7 separate regions of the Homo sapiens genome follow, and regions 2, 3, 4, 5, 6 and 7 are each linked to region 1. Evidence: promoter capture Hi-C in 16 types of primary human blood cells and fetal thymus (Javierre and others, 2016). All regions are on one chromosome and are shown on one strand. Each heading gives the region's core, a stretch centred on a gene start or on the middle of the fragment in contact. The rest is flanking DNA. Distances are from core to core; before and after follow the strand shown.

Region 1 (4,269 bases), core at 537-3,036:
GAGTACAACATACACTGGTAAAGGGAAAGAAATTCAATAAAACAATCTTGTGAAGGACTCCTAAACAAATCTATTAAAATACCATACAAAAATGAATTACCAAAATGGCCCTAATGCTGGGAAAGAAACTGTTTAATAACCAATTTTACAAGGTTTCCCAGCATCCACCATAAATGCACATCTGACACTCAACGAAAAATTCTACAGCTTGAATACCAAACTGCAACTAACTACGGCATTCCAAAAGACGAGTTGGGGACAGAACCGTTTTCTGCCTGGCGAGCTGAGATACCACTTTACGCAAAGCCTTTCTAAAACTCCAATAATTATGGAAGAAAATCACCCCAAAATACATCATAAAACACTCTCTTCTGCTTTGGAAACCCATGCTGTACAAAGTGTGCTCAGAAATCCTTATGTCCCTGCACTTGTCTGAAAATGAAGATTCCTAGGCCCCCGCCTGGAAATTCTGATTCGGTAGGTCTGCAGTGGGGCCCAGGAATCTGCCTGTTTATACTTACTAAGGCTTGAAAACTACTGTCTCAAAGGGAACAAACTCAGAAAAATAGAGCATGTTCCCAGTGATGTAGGATTCTTCATTATGAGCATCAACTGTACTATGCCGTAACATGATGATCTCAGAGGTTAGAGAAATCTTCAAGCTATTTGCCTTCATGTTAGAAGCACCATAACGCTAAGATTCTGGGCTCTCACAACCCTTCCTGTTTTCTACGTCCTTGCTCATCATTAGCAGCTCCTTCCTCCGTGTCGCCTTTAGAAGTTACTCTTGCTCCATTTCAAAACAGCGTTTTAGACACCAGCGTTTTTATCTTAAGTTTAAATGAAAGGCAGGGGGCGAGATTAAGTGTACAGCACGTTCTTTAGGACGTGCTCTTTGTGATGGCTACGGGGGTGGCTCAGATAGCTCTTTTGGTAAATTTCCCAATCCTGCGCCATGCTCCAGTGTCTAGTATGTATTAGACACTCATGAACATTAAATGACCAGGTGAGGTAACATTACATAATGGCCCACCATAGTCTTTTACTCTGGGAAAACCCCAATCATCATTGCTACTTACACTGACAAACTGAATGTCGTCTTCATTTTCATCCGTTGTTGACTCAGATGCCTCAGGGCCAGCTGGAGGGACAGATTCTATTATCTATAAAAACAAGCCAAAACATGCTTATCTGTTCAGCCACATTCGTGTAGGAAGAGAGCGTTTCCGAAAGGAACAATTAAAGACAGAGAGCTCTTGAGGAAAACGAACTGAGCACAATTTCACGGAAACCCGACTAGGAACGGAACTCGAGCTCTGGCTCTTGCCACAGAGTGTGCGGAGCTGCAGGGACCCAACGCTGAAAACGCGTTAGTTACCAGCCTCTCACAATTCCCCTTATCTACTCCAGGAGGAACGCAAGCTCAACACCGAAGGGCAATCCTGCCTTAAAACGTCGCTCCCACTGGCCCAGCCGCGGCCACAACGAACGCCAGGGCCCGTGCGGGGGGCCGGGCGGCCATTGTTGCTGCGGGTTCCTCGCTCAGACACGCACCAGGCCCCAGAGCTGGGCTCGGCCCAAGACACTGAAGAGGTATCGCCCCGAGGCTGCGACGGAGCACCAGGCCTCAGACCGCAGAAAACACAAACCCTTCGCGGTTCGCCTCTGAGAACGCCAGGACCCTCACTCGACTACTCACCTCCGACCCCGGGTCTCCCATGTCTCCGACGGCCGCGCTGACAGCACCACTGCTCCTGCTGTCCCTGCCGCCGCCGTCGCCACGAATCCCCTTCCCGCCCTGCACCGCCTGGCGCTACCGGGACCCGCCCCTGCGTGAGCGCCGACGCCACCGGCGGAAAGAGACGCAAAACCTCTTCAAAGGAGGAGCGGCCCTTACTGGCCCGCTATGCCCCCGGAGCCGCTTTCTCTCACTCCCGGGCTTCCTTCCCCGCGCCGCGCAGGATGCTGGGAATTGTAGTTCGGGTCCGCCCCGAGACCGCCCCTCGCCGGAGAGGAAAAGAACCATGCGCCTAAAAGACGCCAGCTGCAGTGGGTGGGGCGAAGCCAGGGGCCAGCTGGGTCCTGTGAGATAGCGAAGCACTGGGAAGATGTGGGAGGATGTGAAGGAGGGTTTGAGTTGGTATTTGTTTGGTTTTGGTATGGTTGTGAAGCGCAGCTCATTGATTTTTCTGTTTTAGCCCTGAAGGTGGGTGGTGGGAACGGATTTCTCTTTTTTTCCTTTCATTTTTAAATTTATGTATTTACTCATTTTTGAGGACAGGGGCTATGTGGAGGTTTAGCTGAATCCTAGGATCAGGAAAGAATCTGAAGTATCCTTACATTACACACCTCTTCCCTAGCGTCAGTCTCCCAGGCCCTGCCAGTATTAATACACCTGAGGAAGAAAATAGGGATGGGAAATCCAGGGCCCAATAGGAAAGGGAACCGAGGTCTACCTAACTATCACTAAACCCTAGCCAGTGATTTTGAAATGCACTTTTTCAATATTCTCAGATATACTGAGAGAATATGAGAGATCTATTTATAGACTGCTGTAAGGTTGACCTTTTAACCTTTTGTGTGTTCACACTCATAAACCAGTCTATAAAATAGATCTTTTATATTCAACTATGCATTTAATCTGTTCTCAGGTAATACCTTACCAAAAATTTAAAAAGGTTTTTTAAAAAAACACACCAATCGTTGTCAATAAAGTTTATGAAAAGAATTAAGTGATAACATTATTTTAGGCCAGGCGGGTCCTCACACTCTGGGAGGCCGAGGCGGGCGGTTCACTTAAACCCAGGAATTCGAGACCAGCCTGAGCAATAAGAGGGAACCTCGTCTCTACAAAAAATACAAAAATTAGCTAGGCGTAGTGGTCCTTGCCTGTAGTCCCAGCTACTCAGGAGGTTTAGGTAGGAGAATCGCTTGAGGCCGAGAGATTGAGATCCAGGCTGCAGGGAGCCAAATTCATGCCACTGCACTGCAGCCTGGGTGACAGAGCAAGACACTGTCTCAAAAAAAAAAAAAAAAAAACACAAATTATTTAACATCTCAGATTCCTGTTTTTGTTTGTATGCAAAACTACCATCTGATTGCCTAAGCCTGTAGTAATTATTGTTTAATATTTGACATTTCCTGCATTTCCACCAAGTGCTTTATGACTTTAGTTACTTTCTACCTAGTAAGTTTGAGACTTGTGGAAGCCAATTGAGAATGACAGACGTGCATGGGGAGTTCTTCAAAAGCTGTGTGTAAATTAAATATTTTTAAAACGTTAATGTGTAGGCAAAACTTGTATTTAAAAGCTCTTCCTAGTGGGCTGGTGAAAGTGTCCTCTAATATTTAATCAGTTGAGGCAGGAGTTAATGGGTAAAATTCTTGGAAAACAAGCAGTATGTGGCTAGACCCAAAAACTTCTCACACCATACAACTCAGTAACTGTAGTTGCAGGGATTTTCCTGAAGATACATCACAGGTTTTTTTATAACAGCAAAAACTGGAAAATATCTAAATGTCTAATAATTGGGGAATGTAATGTTTAAATTTTGGTATGTATGCTATAAAGATAACATTACAGTGTTTTATCTCCACTGAAAATGTTTACCTAACATTTCTCAAAGCATATTTTTCAAAAATTCAAGAAATATATAGGATAATTAGAACCATGTTGTATTCGTTCTTGCACTGCTATAAAGAACTACCTGAAACTGCGTAATTTATAAAAGAAAGAGGTTTAATTGGCTCACAGTTCCACAGGCTGTACAGGAAGCATGGCTGGGGAGGCCTTGGGAAACTTAAAATTGTGGCAGAAGGTGAAGAGGAAGGAGGAACCTCTTTACATGGGCAGAGGAGGAAGAAAGCAAAGCAGGGAGGTGCTACACACTTTTTAACAACTAGATCTCGTGAGAACTCACTCATTATTAGAGAACAGCAAGGGGGAAATCCGCCCCCATGATCCAATCACCTCCCACCAGGCCCCTCCCCCAATATTGGGGATTACAATTCCACATGGAATTTGGGTGAGGACACAAATCCAAACCATATCACATGTCAAGCCATCAAGAAAAGCATCCCTGAAAGAGAAAACCTACTTAAACAGGAATAGTAATTTATTTTTTTTCTGGGCAGCTGGACTATGTGTTTACAAGAAAATCCAGGCTGGGGGTGGTGGTTCACACTTATAATCCCAGCACTTTGGGAGGCAGGAGGAATGCTTGAGCCCAGGGGTTCAAGACCAGCCTAGGTAACATAGTGAGACCCTGT
Region 2 (4,269 bases), core at 623-3,122, 240 kb before region 1:
CTCGAGGAGTATCTTTGTGGCGTTCTCTGTATTTCCTGAATCTGAATGTTGGCCTGCCTTGCTAGATTGGGGAAGTTCTCCTGGATAATATCCTGCAGAGTGTTTTCCAACTTGGTTCCATTCTCCCCGTCACTTTCAGGTACACCAATCAGACGCAGATTTGGTCTTTTCACATAGTCCCATATTTCTTGGAGGCTTTGCTCATTTCTTTTTATTCTTTTTTCTCTAAACTTCCCTTCTCGCTTCATTTCATTCATTTCATCTTCCATTGCTGATATCTTTTCTTCCAGTTGATCGCATCGGCTCCTGAGGCTTCTGCATTCTTCACGTAGTTCTCGAGCCTTGGTTTTCAGCTCCATCAGCTCCTTTAAGCACTTCTCTGTATTGGTTATTCTAGTTATACATTCTTCTAAATTTTTTTCAAAGTTTTCCACTTCTTTGCCTTTGGTTTGAATGTCCTCCCGTAGCTCGGAGTAATTTGATCATCTGAAGCCTTCTTCTCTCAGCTCGTCAAAGTCATTCTCCGTCCAGCTTTGTTCCGTTGCTGGTGAGGAACTGCGTTCCTTTGGAGGAGGAGAGGCGCTCTGCTTTTCAGAGTTTCCAGTTTTTCTGTTCTGTTTTTTCCCCATCTTTGTGGTTTTATCTACTTTTGGTCTTTGATGATGGTGTACAGATGGGTTTTTGGTGTGTTTGTCCTTTCTGTTTGTTAGTTTTCCTTCTAACAGACAGGACCCTCAGCTGCAGGTCTGTTGGAGTACCTGGCCATGTGAGGTGTCAGTCTGCCCCTGCTGGGGGGTGCCTCCCAGTTAGGCTGCTCGGGGGTCAGGGGTCAGGGACCCACTTGAGGAGGCAGTCTGCCCATTCTCAGATCTCCAGCTGGGTGCTGGGAGAACCACTGCTCTCTTCAAAGCTGTCAGACAGGGACGTTTAAGTCTGCAGAGGTTACTGCTGTCTTTCTGTTTGTCTGTGCCCTGCCCCCAGAGGTGGAGCCTACAGAGGCAGGCAGGCCTCCTTGAGCTGTGGTGGGCTCCACCCAGTTCCAGCTTCCTGGCTGCTTTGTTTACCTAAGCAAGCCTGGGCAATGGCGGGCGCCCCTCCCCCAGCCTCGCTGCTGCCTTGCAGTTTGATCTCAGACTGCTGTGCTAGCAATCAGCGAGACTCCGTGGGCGTAGGACCCTCCGAGCCAGGTGCGGGATATAATCTCCTGGTGCGCCGTTTTTTAAGCCTGTCGGAAAAGCACAGTATTCGGGTGGGAGTGACCCGATTTTCCAGGTGCCATCTGTCACCCCTTTCTTTGACTAGGAAAGGGAACTCCCTGACCCCTTGCACTTCCCGAGTGAGGCAATGCCTCGCCCTGCTTCGGCTCGTGCACGGTGCGCGCACCCACTGACCTGCGCCCACTGTCTGGCACTCCCTAGTGAGATGAACCCGGTACCTCAGATGGAAATGCAGAAATCACCCATCTTCTGTGTCGCTCACGCTGGGAGCTGTAGACCGGAGCTGTTCCTATTCCAAAACCATTTTTTTAATTGCAGTAAAAACATATCAATCTAATTGACTCCGAACTTCTTCACAATACAGGCATATGCTGCTTCTGTATCCTCCGTAATATTACTACCCAGCATATATTCCATGCACAGTACTAAGCACTCTATACGCACTACCTCATTTAAACCTCACTAATCTGTGAGGTGAAAATCGTTATTATCCTCTTATTTCTTTGAGAGACAGGGTCTTGTTCTGTAGCCCAGGGTGGGCTACAGATCATAGTCCACTGTAGCCTCCAACACCTGGGCTCAAGTAATCATCCCACCTCAGCCTCCCAAGTAGCTGGATTACAGGTGTGCACCACTACACCCAGCTATTTTTTATTTTTTGTAGAAATGAAAAACAATATGAAAGTTCCTCAAAAAATTAAAAATAGAACCACCATATGTTCCAGCAAAATCTATTACTGGGTATGTATCTGAAGGAAATGAAATCAGTATGCTGAAGACATCTGCACACCCATATTTACTGCAGCACTATTCACAATAGCCAAGATACGGAATCAACCTAAGTGTCCACCGATAGATACATGGATTTTTTTAAATGCAATATATATACATAACGGAATAATATTGAGTCATAAAAAAAAATGAAAATCCTGCCACTTGCAACACCATGAATGAAACAGGGATATTACGTTAAGTAAATAAAGCCAGGCACAGAAAGACAAATATGTCATGATCTCACTCATATGTGGAATCTAAAAAAGTTGATCTCATAGAAATAGAGGGTAAAATAGTGATTACCAGTAGCTGGGGTGGTTAGGGAGGAAAAGAGGTTAGGGAGATGTCTGTTAAAGGATGCATAATCACAGTTAAGAGTATTAAGTTCAAGAGACCCATTGTACAACATGATGTCTACAGTTAATGACAACAAACTGTATTGATGAAAAATGCTAAGTGAGTGGATATTAAGTATTTTCACCACAAAAATAACTGTTGATGTAATACATTTGTTAATTAGCTAGATGTAATCATTCCACAATGTACCCTTCAAAACATTATATTTTACAGTGAATACATACAATTTTATATTCAATTTTTAAGTAAATTTAAAAGAAAAAAATTAAACACAGGAGGGAAAAATAAATAAATAGAAAATTGAGAAAACAGTTGATGAAAGTTTTCAGAAAATAAAATAAAAACACAAAGATTGAATGTCAGGACCGAAAAGAAAATAAGAGTACCAATCCAGAAAATATAAATTCCACCTAACAAGAGGTTATAAAAAGAGAACATAGAAGAAATTATTAAAGCAATAATAAAAAGAAATTTTCTAACTGAAGAATCAAATCTTCAGATTAAAAGAGTCCACCAAGTTCCCAACCCAAAAAAGTGAAAAAAGGTGCAGACATCGCCATGAAAGTTCACTACACAAGAGAGTGGGACTGGCAAAGGACACAAAGTTACATGCAAAGAATAAGAAGTCAAAATGAAATCAGGCTTCTCAAGAGCAACTCTAGAAGCTAAAAGGTTCAGCAAGCAATATCTCCAAAATGCCAATAAAAAATATTCCCAACATACAGGTATTTGCCTGTATACCAAGGCAAACTACACTCAAGTTTGACAGTATTATAAATACATTTTTCATACAATCTAGAACACAAAAAGTTTACCTCTGTTGATATATTAAGAAATAATTTGTATGACCATACTAGGACAATGGCAGGGAGTAGGGAACAGAGCATATGGGAACAAAAGTTTGTACACTATTGAAATTAACTTAATGCTAATCCCAACTAGATTGTTTTAAAATAAAATATAATTGTAATTCTAAGGGAAACCACGAAGAAAATAACTCAAAAAATACAGTAAAATAAACAGCAAAGGAATTAAAATGGTACACTAGAAAATACCATTTTAATACAAAGAAGGCAGTAATGGAGAAATACAGAAACAAAAAAACCTTAAGACATAGGAAACACATAGATGGCACACGGAAATACTAAGTTATCAGTAATTAAACATAAATGGATAAAACAATCCATGCAAAAGTCAGAGACTTCCAAAATGAATAAAAAAGAAAAGAAGATGATCCAACTATATGATATTTACAACAAACACACTTTAGATTCAAACACACATAAAGGATGAAAATAAAAAGAATAGAAAAAGACATATCACGTAAACAACAACCATAAAAGATCTGGAATGGCTATGCTAATGTCAAACAAACATAACTTAAAACAACAACAAAAAAATGTTACTAGAGAGGAACATTTCATAATGATAAAAGGGTCAACCCATCAAGAAGATTTAACAATTATAAACATATATGCAACTAACAAGAGAGCCCCAAAATAAATGAAGCAAAAATTGACAGAATTAAAGATAATAAATAAACAATAACAGTTGAAGACTTTAGTACCCCACTTTCAATAATGGATAGAACAAATAGGCAGAAGATGAACAAGGAAACCGAAGCTTTGAAAAGCACTATAGACCAACCAGATCTTACAGACTGTATCTACAGAACACTCCAACCAAGAATAGCAGATACACATTCTTCACAAGCACACATGGAACATCCTCCAGAACAGACCATATGCTAGGTCATAAAATAAAATTCAATAAATTTTAAAAGATTGCAGTCATATAAAATATATTCTCAAACTAAAATGGAATTAAATTAAAACCAGTAACAGAAGTTCAGGAAATTCAAAAACGTGGAAATTAAACACTTCTAATCAATGTGTCAAAGTAAAAAAGAATACTTTGAAAT
Region 3 (4,269 bases), core at 449-2,948, 200 kb after region 1:
CAGTAAGGTATTGGAATAATTAATGCACAGGGGCACAAGAATGTGCAAGGTAGGTAGACTGTATTGAATGAACAGTTTAGTCTCTATAAACAACTCATGAAACCAAGATTAACTTGGTAAAGGGATTCATGTGTTCTGCTTGGAGAAAAATAAGCATGTGTTCATAACTCATGATTCTTTTTTGAGGTCAGTATTTTGACTGAAGCAAGACCTCTTGCCATTCTTTCTATGTCTTTCTTGTATGTGATGACAACCTGTTGTCTTAAATAAAAAAAACCTTAAATTCTTTAATCTCCAAACCAAGGAAACTTAAAGAAAACATTTAGATAGTCACTTACACTTTGAAAATTTTCATGGACAACTATGGATCAAAGGACTGAAAAGAAAGCCCCTTCAAAGATGGTCTAGTTTATTATTTCACCTCTAACCAAAGAAATCCTTAAATTGCTCTGGTAAGATGGGTATAGCTTCCTTTATTTTAAAGGACACAGCCATAGCTTACCTCAGAATTCTGTTTGGAATTTAACAGCCATCTCTGCCTGAAACAACTCCTTGATCTTTGCCCTAAATCCCATGCCTTACAATTTAAGACCATTTCTTATTGTGGTATCCTCTGTGGAGAGGATGAAGCATAGCCACCTGCTACCGTGTCACTCTCAGTCTTTGTGAATCAAAGAATGTTAAAGCTTGAGGGGATCTTAGAGCTCATCTGACTTAACAGTTTTTGTAATGCTAGATTCCTCTCTGCTTCAGTACTTTTAGTGATACAATCTCCTACCATTAAATAGTGCTAATTAGCAGCAAGTTAATTGTACTTGAAAATCAATAAATTGTTTCTTTTCTAGGCTCATGGTTCTATCTCTCTGAACTTTTCTCCTAAGTCTAATTCTTAATTTTTCCAAACATCATTTTTGTTTTACTCTTCTAAACCACCTCCAAGTGAGTGATAAGGGTCTGATTTCTCTCAATATTTTCTGTCTCTCTCTCTTTATTTATTTATTTTAGTTCTGAGATGATGATTGTGTTTCAAAAAAATCAATCTATGGAAATTGAACAAAATTTAGTTTGTGCTTTGGGAGATGAGAATTCAGTTCTAGAAATGACAGTAATGTTTCAGGAATTTTTTTTTTTTTTTTTTTTTTGAGACTGAGTTTCACTCTCATTGCCTAGGCTGGAGTGCAATGGCACGATCTCCGGCTCACCGCAAACTCCACCTCCTGGGTTCAAGCAATTCTCCTGCCTCAGCCTCCCGAGCAGCTGGGATTACAGGCATGTGCCACCACACCCAGCTAATTTTGTATTTTTAGTAGAGACGGGGTTTCTCCATGTTGGTCAGGGTGGTCTCGAACTCCTAACCTCAGGTGATCTGCCCGCCTCGGCCTCCCAAAATGCTGGGATTACAGGCGTGAGCCACCATGCCTGGCTGTTTCAGGAAAATTATAGCTTTGGAGTAGTACTTCGTAGTTAAGTAGCACTTCATACTTTCAAAGACTGCTCATATTCATTATCTCCTGAACAAACACCCTGTGTGTTGGGTATGGCATATATTATTGATCCAGTTTGACAAAACTAAACCTCAGTGAGTAGGTGATTGGCTTAAGTTCATAAGGTCAGTTAGAAGCAGACCTCTCTCATCCTTGCAGTCTGTTGTCTCCTGTGTTTATCCTATGTTTATTTAGTCTTTATCTCTGACAATGCTTAGAGAATTGGGTGAGAACTTCCAGGGAGAAGAATATAGATTCCATTTGACTGGAGGAATTATTCAGTATCCCAATGTGACTCATTCCCAGGGAGTAGCTTTACATCTTTGAGAGTCTGCTCACAGCCTGCATTATCTGTGTTGGCCACCCTAGGCTACCTGTGTATTGGCAAGTCCACTTTGGTCTAATACTATCAAGCCCATGCTGCTCCTCCACACACCCTATTCAATTATGAATTGGTAAATTAGATAATCAACTCTGATACTGGGTAATACCACTGGCTAATCTACATTGACCCTTGCTACATGCAGCTCAGTATTACTAAGATCGATGGGGATCAGACACTGTCTTAGTCCATCTGTGTTGCTATAAGAGAATACCTGAGACTGGGTAATTTATAAATAATAGAAATTTATTTTCTCACTCTTCTGGAACCTAGAAAGTTCAAGACCAAGGCATCAGCAGGTTTGGTATTGGGTGAGGTGTTGTTCCTCAGCGATGACACCTTGTTTCTGCATCCTCACCTGGTGGAAGGCAGAAGGCAAAGACAGCAAGAGAGAGCAAGGGAGCTCTTTGAAGCCTTTTTTGTAGTGGCATTAACCCATTCATGATGGTGAGCCCCCATGACATAATCACTTCCAAAAAGCCCCTCCTCTTAATACTGTCATATTGGGGATTAAATTTCAACACATGAATTTTGGGTGGGATACAACATTCAAACCAAAGCAGATACCTAAGCAAATATGTTGTTAAAATTAAGTTTATATACCCTTGTGCACTCTTGGTGGGAATGTAAAATGGTTCAACTGCTATAGAAAACAGTATGGTAGGTCTTCAAAAATTAAAAAATAGCATTATCATATGAGCCAACTATTCCACTTCTGAATATTGAACCCTGGCACATGAATTGTACGCAGAGTTAGTCTCAACTTGAAGCCAAGCCTTTTGTCCTTCACCTCAGTCAGTCATTGGTTATGGGCTGCTAGGGCTGGGGGTGTGAGGAAGCTTTAGGTTAGGGGAGTCCCTGAAGGGGAGGGCGGCTATGAGCCATTAGCAGCCAACCCTCACAGTAGCCTGTATGTGAGTCCATTGGCCAGGTGGAAGGGATGCAGCCAGGACACTCATAGAAACCATCAATCACAAACTTGTTGGATAAATGGCTGATTCCAGACCTGAAACAGAAAATATAGAATGAGCTTCACAGCTCACGCCTGTAATCCCAGCACTTTGGGAGGCCGAGGTGGGCGGATCATGAGGTCAGGAGATCGAGACCATCCTGGCTAACATGGTGAAACCCCGTCTCTACTAAATATACAAAAAAAATTAGCCTGGCGTGGTGGCACGTGCCTGTAGTCTCAGCTACCTGGGAGGCTGAGGCAGGAGAATGGTGTGAACCTGGGAGGCGGAGCTTGCATTGAGCCGAGATCGCGCCATTGCACTCCAGCCTGGGCAACAGAGTGAGACTCCATCTCAAAAAGAAAAAAAAAATGAGCTTGGCACATCTTGTCAAACTCGAAAGCAAGGAAGCATCAAAGACTACTGGGATCATGTCAGCACCAGGAGTAAACTTGGAGAGGCTCCTACTGCTGTTGAAGGAAGAAGGAATGATGAAATTACAATTTTACCACCTTGCAAGCCCTAATAAAATAACGAACCTAGACACTGATCATCAATGACTGCTAATACATGAGAGACAACCACACATATGCGTCTCCTGATGAAAGTATACAAAAATACTTATAAAGTATTCTTGCTAAAAATTGAACCTAAATCAGATCAAACTGCTAGTTCTAATTATAGATTTACATAAAATACAGGTGACAGAGGAATATGTTAAATGATAAGGTGAAGATAGTGAAGATACATTTAGGATTTAGCTAAGTTGAGGTGTGGGAAACTCTAGAACAAATACCCCTAATTTCTTTGACAAATTATAAGAAAAAATGTGGGAGTGATAGTCTATACAAGAAAAGAGACTTAAAAGACCTACCAACCAAATGTAACATGTATGCCTTATTTGGGTGAATAAACCGAATATAAAAAAAAGAGAAAGTGGGGGAAATTTGAACAATGAATTTTTTTTTTTTTGAGATAAGTTCTCACTCTGCCACCCAGGCTCGAGTGCAGTGGCACAATCACAGCTCACTGCATCGTCAACCTCCTGAACTCAGGTAATCCTCCTGCCTCTGTCTCCTGAGAAGGTGAGACTACAGGTGTGTGCCACCAAGCCTGGCTAATTTTTTAATTTTTTTGAAGAAACATGGTCTTGCTTTGTTGCCCAGGCTTGGATATTTAATGATATTAAGAAACTTATAAAAATATTTTAGATTGATAATGGTATTTTTATTTTATTAAAAATAATTATTATCTTTTAGAGATGCATACTAAAATATTTAATAATGAAATAAAATCCCTCATATTGGCTTTAAAATCATCTGGTGGGGTAGGGGAGAAAATGTGGATAGGGGTATAGTTGAAATAGCACTGACCAGGAGATGGTGATTGTTCAAGCTGGGCATGTAAATGGCAGTTCTCTATAGTTTTACTTTGTTGTATAAGCATAAAATTT
Region 4 (4,269 bases), core at 959-3,458, 190 kb after region 1:
GAATTCAACCTCCAAGGAAAATAGCTAACCACTTGCAAGCTTTAACAAAAATTGTGTGCGTTACAGATTTTTGTTTGTAGGTAACAGGACCTGACTGTCTGACTTAAGCCAATAGAGAATTTAATACAACTAGATTGTGGAACTCACAATCAAGACTGGATGTCTGGTTAGAACAAACAAAACCAGGCAGCTTCAGAAGGTCTTTGGTGTAGCCATTGGAACTAATGAACTCCTGATTTTTTTCAGTCTTTACTTGCCTCCATGTAATATTCACAGTCCAAGCAGAGAAATTTGAATTCACTGAGTCTTGGTTATGGGCTTACCCATGAGATGTACTGGGTTATTATTAAGAGGGAAGATCTAGAGTGGGCTCTGGAGCATCTTGGTGTAACTATGTATGAAGACATTACTCATCATTGGGAAATGCAAATAAAAGCTACAGTGAGCTATCACCTCACATCTGTTAGGATGGTTGTCATCAATAAGCCACAAGATAAGTGTTTGTTGATGAGGAAATGAAGCGGCTACATTATCTGGGGTAAATACCCGGGGTTCGTTGTCTTGCACCAAGAAAATTTAGGACAGGGACACACTTGAGGAGTTTAGGGGCAGAGGTTTAATAGGCAAAAGAAAGAGAAAGAAAAACATCTCTCTCTCTAGTGAGAGAGAGGGGACTTCTGAGAGGAAAAGGCTGGCAGGCAGTGGATGCCCCGAATTTTATAGTCCAGCTTGAGGAGGTGGTATCTGATTTTTGTAGGGCTCACAGATTGATTTGATCAGGTGTGACGTCTACATAGCGGGCCTGGAGGGCTGATTACCCCACCCTAATATTATTATGCTAATGACTCTTCCCTTGGCCAGCACCATTTTGTCTTCTTCTTACTGTACACGTGGCTGGCAGAGAAGGGAAGATGGAGCCATCATTTTGAACACGTCTAGTCCCAGGTAGTTCTTTCCTGCAGGCATCCACCTGTGAAAGCTCTCAGCTTGCTTGTCTATGTCTGCAGCTTGACTTTACAGGCTGTTCTTTGTTAGAAAATGATTTGGGGCTGCTTTTCGTTAAAGGGAAAATCTGACTGAGGACTTTTGTACCCTGAGTATCTGCCTAGTAATTTCTTCTTAACTCTGGTATCAGAAGGCTATGGAGAAATTGGAACCCTTGTACACTGTAGGTGGGAATGTAAACTGGTGTAGCCGCTATGCAAAACAGTATGGTGGTTTCTCAAAAAGTTAAAACTAGAATTACCATATGATCCAACAATCACACTTCTGGCTATATGTACAAAGGGGTTGGAATCAGGATCTTGAAGAGTTATATATGCTCCTATGTTCATTGCAGCATTTTTCACAGTAGCCAAGATATGGAAACAATCTAAATGTCCGTGGAGAGATGAGTGGATAAAGAAAGTGCAATATAGGCTGGGTGTGGTGGCTTACACCTGTAATCCCAGCACTTTGGAAGGCCGAGATGGGTGGATCACCTGAGGTCAGGAGTTCAAGACCAGCCTGGGCAACAAGGTGAAACCCCATCTCTACTAAAAATATAAAAATTAGCTGGGTGCGGTGGCCTGTGCCTGTAATCCCATCTACTTGGGAGGCTGAGGCAGGAGAATTGCTTGAGCCCGGGAGGTGGAGGTTGCAGTGAGCCGAGATTGTGCCATTGCACTTCAGCCTGGGTGACAAAGCAAGACTCTGTCTAAAAAAAAAAAAAAGTAGAGAAAAAGAAAACGCAATATATGCATACAATGGAATAGTACTCAGCCTTAAAAAATGAAGGAAATCCTGGCATATGCAACAGTATGAATGAACCTGGAGAACATTATGTTAGGTGCAATAACTCAGTCACAGAAAGACAAATACTGAATGATTCCATTTATATAAAGTATCTAAATTAGTTGAATTAATAAAATCAAAGAGTAGAATGGTAGTTGCCAGGGGCTGGAGGGAAGGAGAGATAGGAAGTTGCTATTCAATGGGTATAAAGTTTCCGTTACGCCAGCTGAATGAGTTCTAAAGATCTGCTATACAACATTGTACCCAGAGTTAACAATACTGTATTGTGCACTTAAAGGTTGAAGAGAGCAGATCTCATGATAAATGTTCCTCACACATGCACATACACACCACACAAACACACACACACACACACGAGTGCACATCTTGGGAAATGATTATCCAAAAGGGGCTGATAATTTGGGGTGTCCTAAAAATGATAGAAGTCCACTACTGACAGGCTTCCAAGTGTCCATCACCTAATGGTTGAAGAGTAACTCTTATTGGCCGGGCATGGTGGCTCACGCCTGTAATCCCAGGACTTTGGGAGGCCGAGGTGGGCAGATCATGAGGTCAGGAGATCAAGACCATACTGGCCAATGTGGTGAAACCCCATCTCTACTAAAAATACAAAAATTAGCTGGGCATGGTGGCACATGCTTGTAATCCCAGCTACTCAGGAGGCTGAGGCAGGAGAATCACTTGAACCCGGGAGGCGGCGGTTGCAGTGAGCCGATATTGCGCCACTGCACTCCAGCCTAGCGACAGAGCTAGACTCGGTCTCAAAAGAAAAAGAGTAACTCTTATTAACACCTGGAAGAACTTATAGCACCACCTACTGTTTCAAGCTAAAATTTCCTCTGTTAAAAGACATGGCTTTTTTTTAATATTACTTAGGAGAAGAAAGTGTCATAAATCAAGGAGCTGTAATTCCTTACAGTTATTTAGGGAAATAAAGGTGAACGGTCATCGTTGTTTATAGTGTTTGTAATCATAGCTGTGAGCTGCTGATGTGTAAATTGCTGCTGCCAGATCCAGGAAGTGAAGCAGTAATAATAATGATAATAATGTATTAAGTATTTTTTCTATGCTGTGTACTGTTCTGAGTACGTAATGTGGATTATCTCATTTAAACACCCCATTACTCTACAAGAGAGACGTATTGTTATATGCATTTGACAAATTAAAGAAGAAGCAAGGCACAGAGAAGTAATTTAGCCAAGACCACACACCTAGTAAGTAATAGAGCTGGTATTATATTTGAACCCAGGTAGTTTGACTCACTGGAGAGTAACAAAGAACTCTCTCCTAATGATCGGTACCTCACATGTGTCTGTCTTCAAGGCACACCAGCAATGTGACTCATTTTCCTATTTCCACCTGATTTCTTTTTTAGATAGTATGAATAATACACTATTGTGTTCAAGACTATATTTTATTCACACAAGTAATATCCATAGTAATTATAGTGAATGTTTCTGTACTACTACGTGCTAGGTACTCTTTGAAGTACTTTACCTCCATTACTTTATTCTTTTCAGCAACCCTATGAATTACTATTTTAATCCTTATTTTATAGGTGAGGAAATAATTAAGTAACTATTCAAGATCATACAACTAGGAAGTGACAAAGGCAGTATTAGAACCCAGATAGTGGCTGCAGAGTCTGTGTAGTATACCACAGTGCTTATAAATAGTTATTTTAAAATAGTACAAGTAAATTTGGGTATAAAAGAAATAACTGAGGCAGTGCTCAGATCTGGAGAAAAAATGTTAAGGTGGAATGAAGATGCCTGAAGTTTAGGAAAGACTGATTTAAGTGGTTTAGAATTTTTGGCCGCATGCGATGGCTTACACCTGTAATCCCAGCACTTTGGGAAGCTGAGCTGGGCAGATCATGAGGTCAGGAGTTTGAGACCAGCCTGGCCAACATGGTGAAACCCCATCTGTACTAAAAATACAAAAATTAGCCGGGCATGGTGGTGCACACCTGTAATCCCAGCTACTCAGGAGGCTGAGGCAGGAGAATCGCTTGAACCCAGCAGGCAGAGGTTGCAGTGAGCTGAGATCACACCACTGCACTCCAGCCTGGGTGACAGAGCAAGATTCTGTCTCAAAAAAATTTTTTTATATCATAAATAATTCTGCATTGAATATCTTACTGGGCACTCTTGGTAGAATTTCTCTAGGGTAGATACAGGGATGTGAATTCACTGAGTTATTGTTTTGCAGAATGGCTGTGACAGCATGTTTTAATCTCTGTCATTTGGTTACTTTAGCGAAGTTTTATGCAGTTTTTCTCCCTAAGTGTTTCTAGAATTTGTAGTCCACTGAGGACTATTGGTAATAATACCAGTTAAGCAAAATCTGGTTGCTTATTACTCATAAGAGAATCTACATTCTTACCAAAGAAATGTACTGAACTTACTCCACTATTACAGAAGCTACTATATCATCAAATATTTTGTTCATTCTACCAGAACACCAAATTTCTGA
Region 5 (4,269 bases), core at 694-3,193, 170 kb after region 1:
TAGTAGAGATAAGGGAATCAAAGGGATTAATAAGGGATGCTAAAAATAGATTCATTGGGAGATAAGATGACCTGAAAGCAGAGGATTAAATTGAGGGGGTTGAGGGAAATAAAACCTATTTCCATGATGCTTCCACTTGGAAAGGATAAATATAAAGAGAACTTGGGATTATGTTTAGCTTGAATGTTTTCCCATCTTGAGCTGCTGGAAAAATTCTAATCGGCAAGCTGTGTTCGGAAGACAAAGAGAGGAATTTAGAATTCTTTGGAACTGCTTTAGCCACCAAAATTATTCTGAACTGTATAAACATTGTGATCCCTTTTCCCACTCAAAATGTAGATATATAAGAAGGCCAGTTTTTACCTGTAAGTCAATGTGGGTGCCTATCTCTTTTCCCTGTTTCTGCCATCTCTGCCAGGGGCAGAGTGTGCTTTAACTCCTGACTGCTGGCTTTGCCAATCTCCATAGGGTCTAGGTGAGAAAAGTCATATGCTCCCTATTAATGTTATTTCGACTGTATGTTTTTTAAAAATAATTGATTGGCCTAGCATTATTATGCTAAGAAAGCTTTTTAAATGGACTGACCATGGAGATGCTCAAATAGATGATTTTTAATCCCTATGAAAAAAAACAACACTAGTGTGATGTTAGCCAGTTCCATCAAAGTTTGGCATGAGATGGAATGTCCTGATCCTCTTCCTCCTATCTTATTAAATTAAAGAAATACTTTTATTAAAGCAAGCATTTGTGATATGGATTTTTCTTTAAACTCAAATGACCACATATAGAACTCAGTGTCCCCCTCCTCCCCATCTCTTTCCTACTATGCTGTTGGTAATGTACTTTTCAGTCCTTTGTTACAGGTGTTCTAATTATAAAAGGAATAAGCTGGATTAAGTAAATTTCCATAGCACAGGAAAGTGGCCTCTAATTAAGCCTATTTTGAATTTTTACTGTGAATGAGAAGTTACTTAGGAACATTTTAGGGGACACAACATAGGGTGAAATGAGAGATCTCTCCTGCACTGTGGATGGAGAGTCACTTATTCAAACACATATGTCACTTATTTTAACTTAATCATAAGAAGTATGGGCTTCTTGTGATTAAGTTAAAATAAGTGACATATATGTTTGAAAATTAGAAATGATGGCTTTGTATGTTTCCAGTACCAAAAAAAAACTAGCTCTCTTTCTGTGTTTAATTTATTGCCTTGGTAAAATTTCCTTCACCATAAGAGAATATTAGTAGAAATCGAAGATGACCAAAGCTGAGAAGAAACCAATATAATTGCTTGTATCGGCAAGACACCATGCTCTCAGATTTTCTTGTTTAAGCATATTAAACCTGTCCTCAGGCTATCTTTGAACACAGAAAAGCTGAACTGTGTGTGTATGTATATACATACAGATAAACACAAATATAAATATTAAAAAATATATAACATCAGTCTCCATCCATTGGTGAGCTGGAGCTGGGGATCAATATGCATATAACTGGCTCTCCAGGGAGAGCTATCTGATAGGGAGCTATATCAGCTAGGGAGAGCCAGTTTTATGTTTATCGTTCCAACTCTGCGTTCAGTGATATCATGGCCATGATGGGAGTGTTTATACCATGAATTTTGGCAAGCACTATGTGATGGTTAATTTTATGTGTCAACTTGGCTGGGCCATGGGGTACCCAGGTACTTGGTCAGACATTTATTCTAGGTGTTTCTGGGAGGGTTTTTTTTTGAGATGGTGGCTTGCTCTATCGCCCGGGCTGGAGAGCAGTGGCGTGATCTCGGCTCACTGCAACCTCCGCCTCCCAGGCTCAAGCGATTCAATTGCCTCAGCCTCCTAAGTAGCTGTGACTACAGGCATGTACCACCATACCCTGTGAATTTTTGTATCTTTAGTAGAGATAGGATTTTGCCATGTAGGCCTGGCTGGTCTCAAACTCCTGACCTAAAGTGATCCTCCCGCCTCAGCCTCCCAAAGTGTTGGGATTACAGGCATGAGCCACCATGCCTGGCCATAGGGAAGGTGTTTTTGGATGAGATTAACATTTAAACTGGTGGATTTGAGTAGACTGCCTTCCATAATGTGGGTGGGCCTCATCCAATCAGATGAAGGCCTTAATAAAACAAAAAGACTGACCTTCCCCTGAGTAAGAGAGAATTTTACACTTGAGTGCCTTCAGATTTCAACTGGAACATTGGATCTTCCTGCTCAATGGCTTTTGGACTAAAACATTGGCTTTACTTGCATCTCCTGAACCACTGGCCCATCCTGTAGATTTGAATTAACCAGCCTCCAAATTGCCTGAGCCAGTTCCTTATCTGTTTTGTTTCTCTGGGGAACTCAGACTAATACACCCTACATCAGGATTTTTTTTTTTTTTTTTTTTTTTTTGCCAGTGAGCCGGTTTACCAGCATCCACTCTCTCCATCTAATCCAGGGAAAAAAATCAAAATTCCCAAATAAGTACTTTCTGATCACTGTCTCTGTCTAAGCTAAGGAAAAAAATCAACAAGTCCCAAATAAAACTTCCTGGTAGGTAATCTTTTTAATATTCAGGCAGTTTCCTTCTATTCTTATTTTACTCAATTTTAAAATCAATAATTTCTCCTGAACTTAATTGAATTTTAAAAATTTAAGGGAATTTTTGAGGTACCTATTGATATAATTATTTCTCCTTTAATTTATAACTGTAGTGAATTACAGTAATGAGTTCCCTATTGAATCAGCCATGATTTCTTGGAATCAACTTTATTTAGTCTTGGAATATTATTATTTTAACTCACTTTGATAGTTCTGGCAAGATTTTATTTAGGACTTTAAAACTTATATGTTAGATTGATGTATACTTTATTTCCTTGAGTTTATCAAGTTTTGTTTTTAGATTGTGCTAGGATCTTTACATGAATCTAGAGTTATTTTTAGCTTCTTAATATTAATTTTAATTACTTTGAAACAATAAAATTTAGTAATGTTTAACAAGCACCCATTATAATTGCTAAACTGTGAAATCAGCATTATTTGTATCTGACCAGCTGTACAAAGCTCATCCATTTTTCTTTTGACAAAAGGTAGTAGAAATTCCAAACAATAAAGAAGAAACTACTCATTAAAAGTCATATTTGCTAATCTAGCACCATAATTCCAGTCTTAGAACCATTCATGCAGCTGGAAGGAGGATATGGAAGAGGTGAGAATACCAGAAATGTAAGGGTAGTTCTCAAATTGGGGCCCCATTTTGCTTGCTCTAAGGCAAAAAAAACAGAGGGTTTAGCAAAGAAGAAGGTCACTGAGGCTAGAGATGCAAACAAAAGCTTTTGGTTCAGATGGTAAAGGAGACCCTCAAGAGAGTAGAATCAGTGTATCTATAAGACAGTGCCTCATGAACTAGGCTCCAACCTTCTTGGCATCCAAGTCCTTTTTAATTTCAAGTTTTTTAGCCAGGTTTTGTATAGTATGCCATAGTTCTGAGCCAGTTACATTCCAACCACATTGCCCAAAGTAAATCAAAGCAGGACCTGGACCATGATGTTGGTAGGGAAGGTGAGGAGGGAACGAAGGGCGGCTGCAGCTCCATGGGCTGGCCTGATGAGAAAATTTTTATCTTTTTCTATTTCTTAGAATAATTTGAAAAATATAGGAATGACCTGTTGTAGGTTAGATAGAACTTGACTGTACACACATAGCCCTTTTTAACATAAGCAGTATGCTTCTGGAAATGGGAGTGCTAACTGAATCAGTGCATGGGAAAACAGAGATTTTAATAGTCAATGGGAATAGGAACTTATATATTTTAATGATATATATATATGGAGAAAGGATACATACGTATATATGTATGTATTTAAGGAAATAATTTCGTAAACAGCAATATAATAATAATTCAGTGCTGTGTGTTTAGCATTTAATGGGGGCTATGTGTGCAAAGTCTTTGTGCCTAGAACCTTTTTTCATGTTAGATCTTTCTCCTATCCTCTTTTGTATCTTCTATGGTTATAGTCCATTTAGATTTTTCTTCCTTTTTTATATGTTGGAGATAAATATACGAAATAACAAAAAGATCCTTTTCTGCCGGTAGTCTTCACAGTTTTGATTGCACCCCCACCAGTGAAATAAATTTGAGCATGCACACTCAATATGTATATGTATTTACGTATCAATTATATACATATACATATACACCTATTCTAATATATTATGTAAAACAGATTTCAACATGAGAAAAATGCAGTTAAATGTGCTTCATTATTTTAAAAAATCTTTAACACT
Region 6 (4,269 bases), core at 1,323-3,822, 160 kb before region 1:
GTTGTATCAGTTGAGAATCACAAATCTAAAAACCCAAAATTTGACATGCTGCAGTGAGCATTTCCTTTGGATGTCATATCAGTGCTCAAAAAGTTTTTAATTTTGGAGCATTTAGGATTTGGGGTTTTAAGATTTGGGATGCTCAACCTGTAATTTGATGTGATGAGTGAAAACGGGAAAGAGTCAAATACTACTTCATCTTTTACCACTTTTTGCTCGCCCACCAAGTTCCAGTTGCTTTCAGTATCTTGAACCCACTGAGCCATCTCCCACCTCAGGATATTTACTCATGCCCTTCCTTCTGTCTGCAATTATTTTACTCCTTGTTTTCATACGGCTAACTAACTGTTGCCTATTCTGAGGTCTCTGCACAAATGTCACTTTCAGAAAGTTGTCTTCCTTGACTCCTCAATCTAAATTACGTCATCATGTTTTTCATACCCCCCGATTTTTCTTTCACAGTATTTATTATAAATTACTGCTTAATTTGTAATCTTATATATCTATATCTATGTAGGCATTTGTTTATTTGAAGTCAATTTTTTCCCTTGGATTATAAGTATCATGAGGATAGTGGTCATGTTTCTTTTATTTTACTTTTTATACCCAATGCCCAGCACAGTACCTGACACTAGTAAATACCTAATACATATTTGCTGAGTAAGTGAATGAATAAACTCCCAGATTTCAAATCTGAAGCACTAGAAAAATGACACATATTGTCTGAATCAGTGTTCACATATTGAAGAAATAGCAATATTTGTAAAACCAAATAATTAAAGACTTAGGGAATGAAAAACCAGTCAAGGTATATCAATTGTCTGGTGCAGTGTCCAGGCACACAGGACTAGGTCAATAAACTAACAATTGTTCCATTCGTTCATCTCTCAGGATGTGTGCTCCAAACCACCAGATGAACAATCTAAGCCACAGTGGAACTTGCACTAACACAGGAAGATACACATTTAGATACTGGTCCTCCCAACAGCAGGAAGGCCAAGAACTAGTTCAGGCAGGGTGTAGTAATGCCATGGGTGTCAGGCTCATGACAGAGCCAACACCCCACCTTGCAGTCACAATATTCCATTTAAATTCTTCCCTCAGGTCTAGGTCCTTAAACTCAGTGTGCCATCTCCAGTCTCCATCCTATTTGTAGCTCCAAGCCTTTGACCAGCACGTTAGCATAGGTATTCTTTTTTTGTTTGTTTGTTTGTGAGACGCAGTTTCACTCTTGTTACCCAGGCTGGAGTGCAATGGCATGGTCTCAGCTCACTGCAACCTCCTCCTCTTGGGTTCAAGCGATTCTCCTGCCTCAGCCTCCTGAGTAGCTGGGATTACAGGCACGCACCACCACGCCAGGCTAATTTTTGTATTTTTAGTAGAGAAGGGGTTTCACCATGTTGGTCAGGCTGGCCTTGAACTCCTGACTTCAAGCGATCCACCTGCCTCAGCCTCCCAAAGTGCTGGGATTACAGGCATGAGCCACCACGCCCAACCTAACCTGGGTATTCTTTATGTCACATTAGATAACCTATAACCCCTCTTGGCAAACTTGGCCCTACTCAGACTGGACAGTTCTATGCTATTCTTACCCTCAATCTAAGCTAGTCTAAGCTTTGAAACAAGTAATCCTACTAGAAAAAGACTTCTTTCTTCCACAACTGACCTAATATGCATAATAAAGAAAAATTGCTCAGCAAATGTGAAGGGGAAAATATGCTTTTTGCAGAAGCAGGGAAGGAAAGGAAAAGCTAGTTTAGATTTTCACTCCTTAAGCATGTCACATCCTAGATGCAAATGTTTTTGGAGAATTATTTTAAAAATTTGTGGTGTCAGAGTCTAGCCTTTCAAATTTGCATGTTTTCATAATTGTCCTGTGATCATGGTTCAAAGCTAACTAAATCTGTTTCCCCAGTATATTAACGTGGTTTCCAAAGTGGAGCAATGAGGTCGCCAGCAGTTCTGCAGAGAACAATGTGCTAATAAGCAAATTGACTTGTGTGTTGTTCAATAAATTCTGTTATTTTGAAGTAATACATTAAGGATATTAAACGGAAATCACTAACTCACTGTAAGGTAGCTTTCAAACATTGCATTTTATCTCAAACTGCTATTGAGGCAGGAGAATAGGGTCTGGAGGCAGGGAGCCTAAGGCTCATTCATGCTGACTGGATATCAGAGGCTACTCCCTTTTCAGCCCCTCCTTTTTCCGAGGGGAAGTTGAAAAATGAAACTACCTCTGACTGGTCCCCTCCTGCAATGGATCAGACTGGTTGCAGGCCTACTCTTCATTCTGATTGGTCCCCTCCAACAACCAATCAGACTGGTAGTGGGCCACTACTTCATTTGCATAGAATAAACCAATGGGAAACCTCTAGAGGGTATTTAAACCCCAGAAAATTCTGTTACCTATGCTCTTAAGCCAGTTGCTCAATCCCACTCCCACCCTTTAGAGTGTACTTTGGTTTAAAATGAATCTCTGCTTTTGCTGCCTTGCTTTGTTTGTGCATTTTGTTCAATTATTTGTTCGAAACACCAAGAACCTGGACAACAACCCACCCTCAACCAATAACACTATTAAATGAAAGTTAAAGGAGTATGAGACTGAATCTAATATTGCTAGCTAAAGACAATTAGGTAAGTTAATAGGTGTGATTTATTGCTTTCTATGGATAGCAAAATGAACTTGAAGATCTCTTTGTAATTTAAATAAGTTGGCTCAATTTGAAACCGCTCCTACCATCTGTTTCCAGTGTTAACTTGCTGGGTGCCTGGGTACTCTTCTTCCTTGACCAACTCTCTGCCATTATAATTCAAAGTCACATGTAAATACACTTGGATACATTTGGTTACGCCACATGACTATGTAACATGTAATCCAAGATCTTATGTACACTCCTTAATTCCTCACGTGATCTCATTTTGATCATTAGTACCTGATCCAATTATTTTTTGGCTAAATTCAAAATTCTAAAGCAAACATTGAATTATATGCTATATTAACTAATATACTGTACTCAGTGTCTTGATTTTTTTTAGTCTCATTATTCTTTCTGGATTTCAGAATGAAACTCATGCTCACCCACTAGTCAGGGCTACAAATGTATCCAGAATGACAGTTTATTTTTAAAAGCCCAAATAGTAGGATTCCCTTCTAGGGGAAATCCTTTGAGTCATACAGAAATTAGTTGCCAAAGGTTTCTAGGCCATATCAAAAGGAAACCTCAAGATTCTTTAAATTATTACTTGAAAATTTTTAGTGTCCAAAATGACAACCTAAGATAGGATTTTGATAGTCCCATGAAACACCTCCTCACACAGAGCAACCACATAGAGAACATTTGCATCTCTTCTGCAGCAGCTATAAATGAGAATTTATACTATTACAGCAGTTTTTGCTATTTCTCATGGGTGCCTTTGACATTTACCTAGTGCTCAAAATACACCAAAAATAATTTTGCTCTGAATAAGCCTCAACTATAACTCTGTAATTTATTTCATAATACTTTTTAATCTTCCTTCAAAGCTTACTCATTGATGGATAATTATTAAGCACTTTACAAATTCCCAAAATTATGTGTGGTATAAAAACAGAGCCTTGAAATTTGACAAGCCCTAAAACTCATCACAATCTATCTAGGCCCGAGAAATGATGAATAATCATATACAACTCAGTCAATGTCACCCCTAGATGTTATGGCAATGAAGGAGGGCTAGCCTGAAAGGGATAAACCTAGTTGCCCAGCCACGTAGGAAAGACGATGGATACTCTAGGTGCAGGCAATCAAGAAATCAAGTCCAGGCCGGGCGCGGTGTGGCTCACGCCTGTAATCCTAGCACTTTGGAAGGCCAAGGCGGGCGGATCACGAGGTCAGGAGATCAAGACCATCCTGGCTAACACGGTGAAACCCCGTCTCTACTAAAAATACAAAAAATTAGCCGGGCATGGTGGTGGGTACCTGTAGTCCCAGCTACTCGGGAGGCTGAGGCAGGAGAATAGCGTGAACCCAGGAGGCGGAGCTTGCAGTGAGCTGAGATCGCGCCACCGCACTCTAGCCTGGGCGACAGAGTGAGACTCCGTCTCAAAAAAAAAAAAAAAGAAATTAAGTCCAGGGAGATCATCTGGTACAGGAAGGAGCACATGAGTACTCTATGGGCAGATGCAGAAACTGGCAGGTGAGAGAATCAGCAGGCAGCAGAAATGGTTATCTTGATAGACATCTGCCCAGCTCTCCTTGCAACGGTGGGCTGGCTGCCCCTCCCTGTTCG
Region 7 (4,269 bases), core at 663-3,162, 130 kb after region 1:
TGCTGGATTAGTAGGTGTGGCCTAGGTAAATTCCTCACAGGCTAAAGGAGAGGACTGCATCTCTTGTGTACAAGGAAACATCTGACGTTCTGCTGGAGTGTCGGGTTGGCCTTCATTAATCTGGGTAGGGGTAGCCTAAGGAGAGTCAGAAGAGAGGAAGAGTAGCTGCTCAGCAAGCTCCAACTGAGAGGATTTCCTTTAGGGGAAGAGCTGCAGTGCAAATGAAGCAGGGAGGCAGTGCAAATGGAAAACATGCAACAGGAATGGTTTGTGTGGTTTGTGAAGTGCTGAAGAATTTTGATGCCGCTTGTTAGGTGTGTGGTCTTTAGGCAATTCCTTACATCTCTAAGCCCTGGAATTCCCATCCATAAAATAGGAATAAGAGTAGTACCTACTCAGGGCTGCTGTGAGGATTGAATGAGTAAATGCACGTAAAGCATTTAGCAGAGAGTAGATACTCAATAAGTGCTAGCTGTTGCTACAGATAACTAGGTGGTCCACATCAAGGTAGCCATTCAGTAATGAGGATGACCAGTGCATGTTATTCCATGCCTTCTGGGGAAGTGGCACAGGTGAATAATGATCATACCAATCAACTCCCAGGGTGCTGTTGGTGCCCCTTAATCTAGGCACTAAGACCTAGACTTTTAACAGCTCACCAGATGGCAAACCACCAGGAAGTCTGATACATTAACTACAATCCTGCAATATCTTCTCTAAGTAGATTCCTGCCTCATTACAAATGACCACAGACTGAAAGTGTGCAAAGAACAGTGCCCACTAGGCCCAGAGGGGGGTCTGAGGCACCCAGGAAATCATATTGATCCAAGGTCTGTTTCTGTGTGGAATGCATGAATGTTATGTCACCAAACCCTAGAGGATCAGAACAGAACTTGGAGCAAAAAGAACTAGCCACACTGAGAGATCGGGATACGTCAGGAAACTGGACTTGCCCACTGGAGTGAAACAGTCACATAATGAAATAACCAGCTTCATACTGTAACAATATGTGATCATGATGATGTGACATTGAGACCTAGTATCCTGGAAATATGGTGGTGGAGAGGGAGTTGAGGTCCACAAATATGGCAAGAGTGGTGTCTTGGTCTGTTTTGTGCTGTTAAAACAGAATACCACAGGCTTAGTAATTCATAATGAACAGAAATTTACTGGCTTGCAGTAATATCAAGGTGCTGGCATCTGGTGAGTGTCTTGCTGTCTTGCTGTGTCATCACATGGTGGAAGATGAAGATGAGAGAGAGAAAGAGAGAGAGGAGGCTGAACTAGCTCTTTTATAACAAATCCACTCCTAAAGTAACAGCATTAATCCATTCATGAGGGCAGAGCCCTCATGGTCTAATCACCTCTCAAAGGTCCCACCTGCCAATACTGTCACAACAATAATCTAATTTCTACATGAGTTTTTGCAGAAGTAAAAATTTAAACCATAGCATTCCACTCCTGGTGGGACGCTAGAAACAACGAGTAGGTGAAGCTGAACAGCTGGATGGGCAGTCTTCCCACCAGAGTGCAGAATCACCCTGGTGGGATTGAGGGCACCAATTACCAGGTCTGCAGACTCCACAGTAGACTGTTGAATGTGGGCTTGGGGAAGGATTTAGGAAGAGTGGTGGCTTTATTTACCAGAATGTCTGTGAGTTGTTTCTGGGAACCTAATACTAATTCCTTTTGTCCCTCTTTTAGGCCTTAAGACTATAGCAATTTTTGCAGACTGTGAACCCAAGACTACCTTTTAGGACTAGTCCTATTGGCTTGGAATGGGCTTATCCATTCAAACATCTAGCTATAAATTGGGTAGTTAATTGGCATGAAGGCAGCTTAGGAATCAATTTATCCCTTCTTTCCATAACAGAAGTCTATGGAAGTGGTCCTAGATTGTTAACACAGTCTTTTCTCCTCTTAGGGTTACAACTGACATCCCAGTGGGAGTTACCTTAGGTGACTCATTTGTCTCCCTCCCAATATGTTTAAAGATGCTAGAGGACAAATTAACTCCCAGCACATCATCTCCATTTAGTCTTTGGGTGGCAGCACTCACCTGCACTTGGGAGACTTATCTAAACTTTTATAGTTTAGAACAGAAAGTTTCCTTTGCTAACCATGGACGGATAGTCCCCAAGACACTTCTTACAGTCTCAGGGGTACCCAGGTGCTGCCATTGTTGATGGATCAAATGACTTATACGAGTTCAGAAGCCTCAGTACCTATGTGGATTTGCATGATTCTGATGATTCTCATTGTGGGAGTTGGGGGAGAGCTCATTAAGAATCTAATGAAAGGTATGGATCATGTCCTCAAAATGAGACACAAGTTTTTACATGTAATTTCAGGTCTCTAGAAACCTACTCATGAATTCCAGTTTGAACTTCTACAGTAGAGATAGGACTGGCAAGAACAGGCTTTAGGTTAATGGCTTTCTTCTTTGAAATATAAACTCTACTATATTCCAATTTGTGTGTTTGCTGTTTGTTGCCCTGTTTTACTCCATAAAGTATTTGTGGCTACAAAAACATTTTAAAGATGTACTTTTCTTTCTCTTCCTAGATTCATGGGATGTCCTTACATTGAGGTATCAATAATCTCTGGAACTATATATTATTAATACATCTTTTACTAATCATCAGTTGCTCATCACAATTTTCTGCTCTCCTTGGTACATTTAGTACTTCTGCTCTCCTAGTGACAATATTTTTTCAGGCTATGAGTGCATTGATGCATTAGCATACAACTCTATTAGCACAAAATATTTAATGCAAAAGTCCTAAATGACAAAGAATTATTGTAAGAAATAGGGGAACTCTAGCTATTCAATGTTGCTGTAGTTTTATTATCATCACAACCTAGAACTTAATTTGTAGATAATAACCAAAATTTTATTCATCTTGTAACATTTGCTATGCAATAATAAAGCTCCTACCTTACTTTTTTATCTTTTTACTTAAGAAGTGTAGAAGTTTCAGATGTAGAATGTTTATAACTTATATGGCAAATTTCATCTTGGATCTAGAAGGCAATATCTTCAGCTTTCAAACTTGCTTTGTAAATTGCCCATTCTTAGAAATGGTGGAAATATTTTATACCATCGGAATAATAATGAACGATATTGCTCAGCGATTTATAACTCTAAGAGCTTTATAATTTGATTTATGAACAGTTCTCAAATTTTCCATTGGCAGTTCATACAACTATGAGTAAATTTTCTGGCCAAATGACTCAGTATTTTGTGGCATGACTAATCCCACACTCAATGTGGAAACTATATAAATAAATTCTATTTGCTTGTGGATAATAAATGATTACTTTCCAAAAACTGTCTGCAAAGCATTATATAGTAGACGAATTCAATTATATTGATGTTTTTAAGCTCCCAAACTCAGCTGACTTTTTTGAAAAGTCTGTAATGCTCACACACCCAAAAAGAACTCCCCTCACATACTCCTGGAATTATCATGGCTTCGGCAGTGTGGTAACCCATAGAACAACAAAACCTAATTAGGCTCTACAATAGCTAAAATGTTAAAACAACAATCTGAAATAATTCCATTTGCAATATTTTCTCAGTAGTTTTAAGTTATTTTAAAAGTTTTTATTACGGTAAAATAAAGCCCTTTACCAGGGAATATTTGCTGAAAATAATATTTGATATTACTGCAAGTTACAATTATTTTCCTTTCAAAAACTCAAATATTAAAAAGAAAATAGTAATCTATCCACATGATGGTTTCCCTGGTTCTGGTGGCTGGAAATCACCTCCAAATTTATTTTAGATGAAGTAGGTTCTTCCAGATGATATAGCTCCTTTACCTTTTAATACAAGCACATGTAAAACACTTCACCTAGAAGCAAGGAAGTTACCAGGCCAAAATCAATATGCTTTATTTCTAATAATTTATTGCTAGAGCCATTCTTACCTAAGCTTCTTGTTTTCAAGGGGTAATATTTCAATGTAATGTCCTTGTGTGATTACCAACTGGGTAATTTACTCACTTCCAGATAAATTGGTAATAATCACAGACAACCTAGGCTACATTCCAAGACATTCCTTATCTTTCCCTAAAAGTCATTTTTCAAGTCTGAGTACTAGTAGCCAGATTAGATGGGGAAGAAACCATGGGCATGGAGCCATCCTAACTAGTCAGGCTCAATTTTCACTCTGCAGAGTCTAAAGCAACCTGAGACCAGAAAGAGCTAGTCTGTTGGGGGGACTCAAAATTGCTAAATCACAAATCCCCAGGAGAATGTCCTCTT

What was found. Contacts are between HindIII fragments. The CHiCAGO score rates a contact against its expected background, and 5 or more counts as called.
Region 2: a contact is called between a fragment that was not itself captured here and the fragment with the promoter of ZNF451 in region 1, in 3 of 17 cell types (non-activated CD4 T cells, naive CD8 T cells and total CD4 T cells). The highest score is 5.4, in non-activated CD4 T cells.
Region 3: a fragment that was not itself captured here is called in contact with the fragment with the promoter of ZNF451 in region 1 in 1 of 17 cell types (erythroblasts); the score reaches 6.5 in erythroblasts.
Region 4: a contact is called between a fragment that was not itself captured here and the fragment with the promoter of ZNF451 in region 1, in 12 of 17 cell types (erythroblasts, megakaryocytes, naive CD8 T cells and 9 more). The highest score is 15.0, in erythroblasts.
Region 5: a fragment that was not itself captured here is called in contact with the fragment with the promoter of ZNF451 in region 1 in 1 of 17 cell types (erythroblasts); the score reaches 5.6 in erythroblasts.
Region 6: a fragment that was not itself captured here is called in contact with the fragment with the promoter of ZNF451 in region 1 in 1 of 17 cell types (naive CD8 T cells); the score reaches 5.8 in naive CD8 T cells.
Region 7: a contact is called between a fragment that was not itself captured here and the fragment with the promoter of ZNF451 in region 1, in 4 of 17 cell types (erythroblasts, megakaryocytes, fetal thymus and 1 more). The highest score is 7.0, in erythroblasts.

What each region holds. Positions count from the first base shown.
Region 1 is chr6:57,087,705-57,091,973 of GRCh38, reverse strand. ZNF451 (zinc finger protein 451) reads right to left here and starts at 1,786. Exons shown (of 15, transcript NM_001031623.3): 1 at 1,700-1,786; 2 at 1,080-1,163. The coding sequence starts at 1,720. RefSeq lists a silencer at 1,728-1,797 and enhancers at 1,218-2,100, 1,968-2,117. The HindIII fragment of the contact is 8,135 bases long and covers 1-4,269 here.
Region 2 is chr6:57,332,112-57,336,380 of GRCh38, reverse strand. All of the region lies in intron 5 of PRIM2 (DNA primase subunit 2), which reads right to left. Among named protein-coding and RNA genes, the nearest start is that of PRIM2, 17 kb to the right of the region's middle. The HindIII fragment of the contact is 4,202 bases long and covers 1-3,973 here.
Region 3 is chr6:56,883,650-56,887,918 of GRCh38, reverse strand. All of the region lies in intron 3 of DST (dystonin), which reads left to right. Among named protein-coding and RNA genes, the nearest start is that of DST-AS1, 42 kb to the right of the region's middle. RefSeq lists a cis regulatory region at 286 and an enhancer at 202-371. The HindIII fragment of the contact is 2,019 bases long and covers 689-2,707 here.
Region 4 is chr6:56,903,097-56,907,365 of GRCh38, reverse strand. All of the region lies in intron 2 of DST (dystonin), which reads left to right. Among named protein-coding and RNA genes, the nearest start is that of DST, 50 kb to the left of the region's middle. The HindIII fragment of the contact is 4,334 bases long and covers 42-4,269 here.
Region 5 is chr6:56,921,589-56,925,857 of GRCh38, reverse strand. The region is part of intron 2 of DST (dystonin); the gene reads left to right. Among named protein-coding and RNA genes, the nearest start is that of DST, 31 kb to the left of the region's middle. The HindIII fragment of the contact is 2,747 bases long and covers 570-3,316 here.
Region 6 is chr6:57,246,688-57,250,956 of GRCh38, reverse strand. It overlaps a transcript of PRIM2 not described here. Among named protein-coding and RNA genes, the nearest start is that of LINC03001, 15 kb to the left of the region's middle. The HindIII fragment of the contact is 1,912 bases long and covers 1,617-3,528 here.
Region 7 is chr6:56,959,117-56,963,385 of GRCh38, reverse strand. All of the region lies in intron 1 of BEND6 (BEN domain containing 6), which reads right to left. Among named protein-coding and RNA genes, the nearest start is that of BEND6, 6.1 kb to the right of the region's middle. The HindIII fragment of the contact is 4,055 bases long and covers 1-3,939 here.